Linked DNA regions of Homo sapiens: all the other regions are linked to region 3. Evidence: promoter capture Hi-C in 16 types of primary human blood cells and fetal thymus (Javierre and others, 2016). All regions are on one chromosome and are shown on one strand. The core of a region is centred on a gene start or on the middle of the fragment in contact, and the rest is flanking DNA. Distances in the headings are between cores, read along the strand shown. Region 1 overlaps LSM11 (LSM11, U7 small nuclear RNA associated). Region 2 has its middle 13 kb from the start of THG1L. Region 3 holds the start of ITK (IL2 inducible T cell kinase).

Region 1 (3,122 bases), core at 394-2,893, 570 kb before region 3:
GAGGCCTTCCCAGAACTGGGTTTAATCAGAAGTCAACATGGTGGACTGGCATTCAAGATGGAGTTGCTTTAGCCTCCACAACTACCTATTCAAAGATTTAAGGACAAAACTGTATCTACATATATATCTCCAAATATACAAAGTTATTAGCTCATTAGGGCAAAGGCAGCTCCCCAGATTCCATAACCTATTAAGGGCCCAGAGAAATGAAACCACAAACTGTAACAGTCACCTTATGAGTCTGCAATGGAAAAATATTTTCTCTTTTCTCTGAAAATAGTTTTAGTTGCCATTCTATAGAAGGGTGCCATGACAGATTGAAAGTACAATGTTTGAATCAGTGACCCGGCAAAGGCACATCAGTGTCTTCCCTATTGTGATGCTATGTCAAACTGGCCTAAACACACACACACACACACACACACACACACACACAGCAGTGTGGTGCAGAAATCATCTGAGACTATTCCTTAGTTGCACTGGAGACAGCTGACTGGAAACAGCTGCAATGAGCTGAGAAAAGTGACAAGGCTGAATTTTAAGCTTGGCCTTTTCTGAAGCCTAAGTACCGCTGTTCTCGGTTTTATGTAAGTCATACTCATGCCCTTTTGGCAACCTCTGTGTAACAGAGATGCTGTTCAAATTTGAGAGTTCATTTTACTGCTGTACACAGGGCTCAGATGTTCTTGATTTTGCCTATTTTCTTGCTCTTTATTTGCAGGAAGTGAAGTCAAAGTTATCCAAAGAATATCACTTTATTAAAATGAAAACATCAAGACACCATATTGTGGGAAATTATTTCAGCAATCAAAGTAAACTACAACAACAGGACTCAAACAAATTTTCAATCATGGTATCACGTCAGAGGCCCAATAAATCAGGTTTGTTTTGAAATCCTTCTCAGCAGGATGTGTGCGAGTAAAAGGACTGTGTAGGCTCCCTGCAGGAAAACTGAATTTGGAACTGGAGACAAGCCATTCACCTAGACAATGGTCTAGGAGCCAAACCCTGCATGTCATATGCATTTTGGATTGACCACACACACTTGTTCACACCGGCACAGGCTGCACACCAACACACCTGTAGCTAAAACAAAGTAATGATAACACTTTTTCTTACAGCTTTATAATGTCAAGACGTGAGCTTGAACACACCAGTTCATTTCACAGTGACAGATATACCTAGAAAAAGCTTGCTTGAAGCACAATTATAAACCAGAACCACCGTGGGCTAGGTATGGTGCTGCGATACTAAGGAGAAATATAGACACTAGAATTATGTGGAAAAGAGGATAATGCTCTTTAGTCTTGTCTTACCATCTCTATAGGCATGTCAATATTAAAAAGGAGGAAAAGCAATTGCATTCCACTTGCAAGTACAGCTTGTGTGTGAGTTCTTTGTTGGTATCAGTGATGGCTTAGGCTTAATGATGACGAAAAACCTTTCCTCCTATGCTTTTTTTCTTCTTTAGTATTCCCAGTATTGCAACAGCCTCCTATACTTTTATTATTACTTTTTTTTGAGACCTCGTATCACCTCTGTAGAGGTCTCTATGATGTCCCTATGATCTCGGCTCACTGCAGCTTCCACTTACAGGGTTCAAGCGATTCTCGTGCCTCATCCTCCTGAACAGCTGGAACTAGAGGCAGATGCTGCCATGCCCAACTAATTTTTGTATTTTTAGTAGAGACAGGGTTTCACCACGTTGGCCAGGCTGGTCTTGAACTCCTGGCCTCAAGTGTTCTGCCCGCCTCGGCCTCCCAAAGTGCTGGGATTACAGGTGTGAGCCACTGTGCCTGGCTACTTTTAAAATTTTATTACTGCAAGGAAAAGAATACAACTGCTCCACAAGGGAATTCAAAGAGATTCTATGACAGAGATACAAAGTGAAATATTTTACAGTTAAAACACCATTACACTTAATTTTGCACTCCTTGTTTTTTCATAAACATTCCACACTGTCCTCTCTGTGAATTTGGATGGGTAACTTGGATCTGAATTGATGAAATACATCATTTTAAAGTCAGCGACAAAATGTAGCTCCTCATGTATTCTTCATTATGTTTCACTGATGATATGACCTAACAAAGCTTCTTCTTGCTGTTACAGCCTGATGGAACTTACATTTTATGTGAATATTTTGCAAAGGATTATGCATTCTCAAATGCATAGGCATTTTTTTCCAGAAAGCATTTGTATATGTCCACAAATAGTATTATCTTACTGGTATCTATATTTTGATTTTCCTGAGCAACTGTATCCAATCAGAGTTTAGAGTAGGCATATATTTTTTTAAATTAAAACTGTGGCATACATATAAAACATACCTAGTTCTTTTTTTTCCCCCCTTCCAACTTTTGTTTTTGGATCAGGAGGTACACGAAAGGTTTGTTGCAGGTGTAAATCGTGTGTCACTGGGGTTTGGTGCACAAATTATTTTGTCACCCAGGTAGTGATCACAGTACCCAATAGGTAGTTTTGTGATTCTCACCCTCCTCCCACCCTTCACCCTCAAGTAGGAACTCTTTCTTGAATGAATCCAATCCTCACCCATGTTTCTGTTGTTTTCTTGCTTTCTGAAGGTCATCAACTCTGTGCGACGTCAATGCCTTTCTCTCATGTACACTCAACTGTCTGCAGTGCCATGGTGAAAATTTTCAGTATGTAGGGCATATTCTCTGAGATCTTGATTCCAGGGATATATACTTAATCATAAGAAGTTGACAAAGCTGGTCTTCACACACTGTCATACCATTACAGTAAAGTGCTCTATAGGGAAAGCTAAAACCACCCACCACATAGCAATACACAGGAATATTCCTTTCCCTTGACAATCTTGGTAGCAAAGCAATAACTGGTAAAATAGAAATAAATGTTGCAATGAGACTTGGAGTGCATTTCAACTACCTAATGGTGGCAAATTGCATAGGCAAATTAAGGTCCCCCAAACTGCTCTCATTTTGGGAACAAGCATACTGTCTTTGTGTTACAGCCAGGCAAGCAGGCCGGGGTAAATCCTAGCTTGGGCAGGGATGCTGTGGCATGGTAAGACATCCAACGAAGGCACACGGAACAGCACAGAGCGTTTCAGGATGTTCTCTCTTAATAAACAAATTTCTAGG
Region 2 (2,882 bases), core at 257-2,756, 540 kb before region 3:
ATAACCCAAAACCCTCTAACAGCAGTTAGTGTGGCATCTCCATAGCGGGGAATGTTGTAGGAAGAGAGGTCCTTGGGAAGTTTTCTTTTTTTCTTTTTTTTTTGAGACAGAGTCTCACTCTGTTGCCCAGGCTGGAGTGCAGTGGCGCAATCTCGGCTCACTGCAAGCTCCGCCTCTCAGGTTCACCCCATTCTCCTGGCCCAGCCTCCTGAGTAGCTGGGACTACGGGTGCCCACCACCACACCCGGCTAATTTTTTTTTTTTTTTTTTGTATTTTTAGTAAAGACGGGGTTTCACTGTGTTAGCCAGGATGGTCTCTATCTCCTGACCTCGTGATCCTCCCGCCTCGGCTTCCCAAAGTGCTGGGATTACAGGCGTGAGCCACCGTGCCTGGCCAAGGGAAGCTTTTGTTTTTTAAAGCATCTCTGGAAAAGTTTCTCTTAAATCCCTGGCTCTTAGCAGCAGCCCACCAACCTTTGATATGCAAATACTGACCATTAGAAAGTGGGCCCACCCAAACATGGAGATTCCTGTGGCCTTCCTGCCCTTTCCCCACATGTTCCTGGCAACATGGCCACCTCCAAATATCCCCAGGAGTGTAGAACATCATGGCGCCCTACATTTGCATATTAAAAGGCTAGGGTGGGAGGGTCAGCTTTTTTACAGGCTACGTGAATGTCATGCCTAGTCAAACCAATCCCTTGAGCCCTGTGCAAATCAAACACCACCTCCAGCCTCTGCATATATACCTGGCTGGTGTCCCTGCCAGGTGGGGACCTCCTCTTTCAGCTTTGGAGCCCCCATCCCTGTGTCTCTGTATGGGGGAGCTTCTTTCTTCTGTCTTCTCCCTTCCTTCTTACCTATTAAACTCTCCGCTCCTTAAAAGCAAAAAAAAAAAAAAGAAAGAAAGAAAAAACAGGGTTTCCCCATGTTAACCAGGCCGGTCTCCAACTTGTGGGCTCAAGCTATCCGCATGCCAAAGCGCTGGGATTACAGGTGTGAGCCACTATGCCCGGCCCTGAATTCATGATTTTTAAAAATGTATTTTCCAGGCCCAGTGCGGCGGCTCATGCCTGTAACCTCAGCACTTTGGGAGGCCAAGGCGGGCAGATTGCTTGAGGCCAGGAAATTGAGACCATCCTGGCCAATGTGGTGAAACTCTGAGCTAAAAATACAAAAATTAGCCTGGCATAGTGGGGCATGCTTGTAAATCCCAGCTGCTCGGGAGACTGAGGCATGAGAATCGGTTGAACCAGGGAGGAGGAGCTTGCAGTGAGTTGAGATCTCACCACTGCACTCCAGCCTGGGCGACAGATCCAGATAATGTCTCAAAAAAATAAAGTGTATTTCCCAGCTCTGTCCATTGGGTGGAGATAAAATGACACTCCAGAAGCAGTAAGCATCCAGATCTTAACTTCAAATTACCATTCCCCATGAAAATGAAAATAAACTCCTTGAAGAAATGGCTGGCTCCACATTGTGGCAGAGGAAATTCTAGGCGAGCCTGGGACACTGTGTTGTCCCAGAAAGGAAGGAAATGCTCAGACTAATGAGTGTATCTCAAAAAAGATGAGCCAGCTTAAAGGGGTTCCCACTGGCCAAATATGCGATAATTTGGGCATTGATAAAAATAATAACTATAATTGATTGCAATTGTATTGCAATTGTATTGATAGTGCCTGTAATCTTAGCTACTTGGGAGGCTGAGGCAGGATAATCGTTTGAACCCAGGAGGCAGAGGTTGCAGTGAGCCAAGATAGCACCATTGCACTCCAGCCTGGGTGACAAGAGCAAAACTCCATCTTAAAAAAACAAAACAAAACAAAAACACACACGCCAAAAGAACATAATCAGACATATTCAGGATGCAGGGTATTATGTAAGATCACTGACTTGGCTTCTTCAAAAGTAAATTTTATCAAGAAGAACAATATCTTTGAACATGTGTCCTAGGAGAAAAAAGGAAAATGAAAAAGGAGGAGAAACAGGGAAGAAAGAAAAGGTAAGTGGAGGGCTGGGCATGGTGGCTCACGCCTGTAATCCTAGCACTTCGGGAGGCCAAGGCGGGTGGATCACTTGAGGCCAGGAGTTGGAAACAAGCCTGGCCTTGATGGGGAAACCCTGTCTCCACTGAAAATATAAAAATTAGCCAGCTTGGTGGCTCATATCTGTAATCCCAGCTATTCAGGAGGCTGAGGGAGGAGAATTGCTTGAACCTGGGAGGCAGAGTTTGCAGCAAGCCAAGATTGTGCCACTGCACTCCAGCCTGGCCAACAGAGCAACACTGTCTCAAAAAAAAAAAAAAAAAAAAAAAAATAGAAAAGGTAAGTGGGGACTGTTCCAGAATAAGAGATTTAAGAGACATAACAACCAAATACAATGCAAAACTCTTGACTGGATACTGGCCTAAAAACCATTAAAAACAGCTCTAAATTCACTGGGGAAATCTGCAATTACAAACAACCCTAGGTTTTAGTGGTTTGTAAAACAAAAGTTTATTTCCTGTTCAAGTCACTTGTACTGCCAGTTGACTATGGTTATATTCCTGATAGCTGTTTTGATCCCTGTGTCTTACCCCAAAACCCAGGAAATGATTAGAAAAGCTTCTACACCGCACAATGTGCATCTTGCTGCTCACAATATGTTTGCTGAAGCAATATGGCCAAGCGCTAAGATTATAGGGGAAGAGTGTGTCATCTTCCCATAGAGAAGAGGAAAGTGAATACTTTTGAGTAATAATATAATCTATTGCCACTCTTTATTAGTGGATACTAGGGAATTTTAAATTTTACAGGTATGATAATGTAGTGTGTAAAAGACTAATCTTAGGAGACACACTAAGAAGTATTTAGGGATGAGATAGTAACAGTAAAAAAGTAGAT
Region 3 (2,925 bases), core at 67-2,566:
TGTAAAAATAATATAACCATACAGTAAGAAATCAAACATGCTTTGAAAAATTGCAGCATAGGGCTAAACAAGAGCCACTGCATAAAGCAAAGAAGTTTTGAAGAAGAAAGGGATCTTGAAGGTTGTTATTTCCAGTTTTTTCATTTTATGAAGAAAGAACCTGAAACAGGAGGTAGACATTTGCCCAGACTGGATCACCTACTGAGAAGTAGAGTTTGGTCTCCTGACCCTTTGTCCAATGCTTTTTCTACCAAACTACATTATTAGGATTATTCCTGTTGCTTTTGTTATTAGTGATGTTAAGAAGCACAAGACTATTTTTAGATAAAGAGATAGACTGACCTAGCAAAGCAGCCATACTCCTTCTGGGTAAGAACCGCTGGTCTGCACTGCAGAAACTTTGTTCTTAATAACCCTGGTGTCCTAAGAAGTCTATCAAGAGATGAAGAGGTTTGCCATTGTGCCTTACAACTTTTAGATAATTAAATGCCTGGGAAATCTTATTTCAAGATCAGGCTAGCGACGAGTATTGAGACAAACAGAGTTATTCATGAAAACGTTAACACTGAACCCAAAACTTAACCATTCTAAACACCAGTTTCTTCCACTAAAAAATAAGAAAGCTGGGGTAGATCATCCCATTGAATGCTAGTGTTGTATTAATCTATGTTTCATTAAATTTAGTATGTTTCATTAAATTTAGTATGTTTCATAGAAAGTTCAAGTTTTATCGAATCATAATACTTGCTACCTAAAATGTTATTCATAATTTAAAAACCAAACATAACCTTGCAGGGGGAAAAAGCTGATGAATGTTAAATTTACAGTTTTTAGAACTGAAATCACCTAGCACCACCATTTCACCTCTTGACTGCTCTCTGCATTCTCCTCTGATTACTTTTACTGTACTTTTTATGTTGTTACAATAAGCATGTTTGTGTTTCCTGTGCTCTATTTTATGCTATGTATATATTTTTGCATTAGCCCAGTCCAAACATAAAATGCTATGCGAAAAAAGACAAATGAAACTGCTCACATACCCCATGACGATCTTCAAAGTATGCCAGGCTGGCTTTGGTTAACACAAAGAAGCGGACTTTAAAGTTCGAGGGAGAAGTTCTTCTCTTTTGTTGGGATTTCTTGATGAGCTGTTCTTCCAGGAGGATAAAGTTGTTCATGATCCAGTTCTTGAAAGGTGGTGCACCTTGGGCATCACCTCTTAGCACAACCAAAGGAAAGAGTTTTGGGGCAAAGAATGCAATGTGGAGGCAGTTGATCTTCAGAGAGCTGCTCAAGGGCAACTTGCCTTCAACGTTATCTTTCTATCAACGTTCAGCCAACATAGCTGAGCTTCTCCTCTGATGTCAAAGGCCGAAACCACATCCTTTCAAAATTCACAAAACGAGGAGGCATATGTAAAAAATACATACAGCCTTTGCTAATGGCTTGAAATGATATTTGAAAAACTGTAAACTCAAAATTGTGGTAAGGATTACAGTTTAATCTTTATAGTTCCTGGTTTAATCCATCCAGCAGTTAAATCATGTAGCACAAGGAGTAAGGACAATGTGTGGTTTTGCTTACCATGATATACTCAGCAACCATCACAGTACCTGACACATAAAACAGATGTTCAAGAAAAATTTGTTGAATGGATCATCACCAAATTGGGTTGGACAATTAAAAGAGGTAATGAGCACAAAACCCTCACACATTAAAGTGAAGAAATATGTTGCTGAAGTTTATTAGTTTTTAAGATTTAAATTAAAGCCCATAGAAATTTCTCAATGCTACATATAGATGACTGCCTTTCTGTCCTGACGTTTTGTGGAAGAGTGAAAAATAAGTGAATCCTTCAGAATGGCATAATAAACAAAGTATATGTGGGCTTTGAAAACAGACAAACTTGTGTTGGATTCCCAGCTCTGTCACTTACTATGCTGTTTCTCTTTGAGCAAGCCATGACTTCTCTGATCCTTAGCTTCCTTGTGAGGGTCCTTTGGAGGACTGAATCCCATACATCTTATGAATGGTAGGTGCTAGTCATACATGTCACCTTAGAGTTAGTACATAGTTGAAGTATAATGTGTGACAGTTACCTCTACTATGTTAATAATCAAGAGATTTTAGTGTAAGCAGATATTGCATGTAGTGGGTAGGGATAAATAATAAATGAAATAATAATTATTGCTGTATAGGAGTGAAATTCTCCAATGTTTATTTTTAAATGTAAATTACCAGACAACAGCCTAATTTTATTTCATATACTGGATGCCCCAGCATAATCAAGACACCCAGGAGGGTACGGTACTGGTATATTTTAAATTACCTCCCCCATTCTGAGATTCTTAAGACATATGTGTGGAAATACACTGCCCAAACAAGATAGTATTTTTTTTTTCTGAGTATGGGCTTGAGGTAGGGATTGCTACTATTCCCAAATAGCTACTCTCTCCTTCTTACTAGAGTAACAGAATCCCTGACAGTTATCTGGGCATCTGGCCAGCAAGAATAAAGACTACAAATTTTAGCCTCCCTTGTAGCTAGGTGTAGTTGTATGACTGTCTTCTGGTCAACTGAATGTAGCAGAAGTCGTGTGCACAACTTCTAGGAAATTTCCTTAGTGGGATCTGTCATCCCCTTTTCTTTCCCTTTTCCTCCTGCCTTGTGACTAGAATATTGAGGTAACAGTTGGAGCTGAAGCAGCTATCTAGTATCATGAGGTGGAAATTGAATGTTGAGGACAATGGAGTATAAGATAGAAAGAGCCTGGGACCCTGGTGACCATGGATCTTCCATGCCAGCCCTGGATTACATTTTTTAATATCTATTTTCTAAGTCTCAGTTATTTTGAGGTTTCTGTCACTACCAGCAAACCTAGATAATACAGTGCTATCTTCTCAAACTAGACTACAAACTCCTCTG

What was found. Contacts are between HindIII fragments. The CHiCAGO score rates a contact against its expected background, and 5 or more counts as called.
Region 1: a contact is called between a fragment that was not itself captured here and the fragment with the promoter of ITK in region 3, in 8 of 17 cell types (fetal thymus, activated CD4 T cells, total B cells and 5 more). The highest score is 8.1, in fetal thymus.
Region 2: a fragment that was not itself captured here is called in contact with the fragment with the promoter of ITK in region 3 in 1 of 17 cell types (M0 macrophages); the score reaches 7.1 in M0 macrophages.

Annotation. Positions count from the first base shown.
Region 1 is chr5:157,745,308-157,748,429 of GRCh38, reverse strand. All of the region lies in intron 1 of LSM11 (LSM11, U7 small nuclear RNA associated), which reads right to left. Among named protein-coding and RNA genes, the nearest start is that of LSM11, 3.2 kb to the right of the region's middle. The HindIII fragment of the contact is 899 bases long and covers 1,194-2,092 here.
Region 2 is chr5:157,717,172-157,720,053 of GRCh38, reverse strand. No RefSeq gene overlaps it. Among named protein-coding and RNA genes, the nearest start is that of THG1L, 13 kb to the left of the region's middle. The HindIII fragment of the contact is 2,199 bases long and covers 407-2,605 here.
Region 3 is chr5:157,179,231-157,182,155 of GRCh38, reverse strand. It overlaps ITK (IL2 inducible T cell kinase), which reads right to left and starts at 1,316. Exons shown (of 17, transcript NM_005546.4): 1 at 1,041-1,316. The coding sequence starts at 1,178. The HindIII fragment of the contact is 39,229 bases long and covers 1-2,925 here.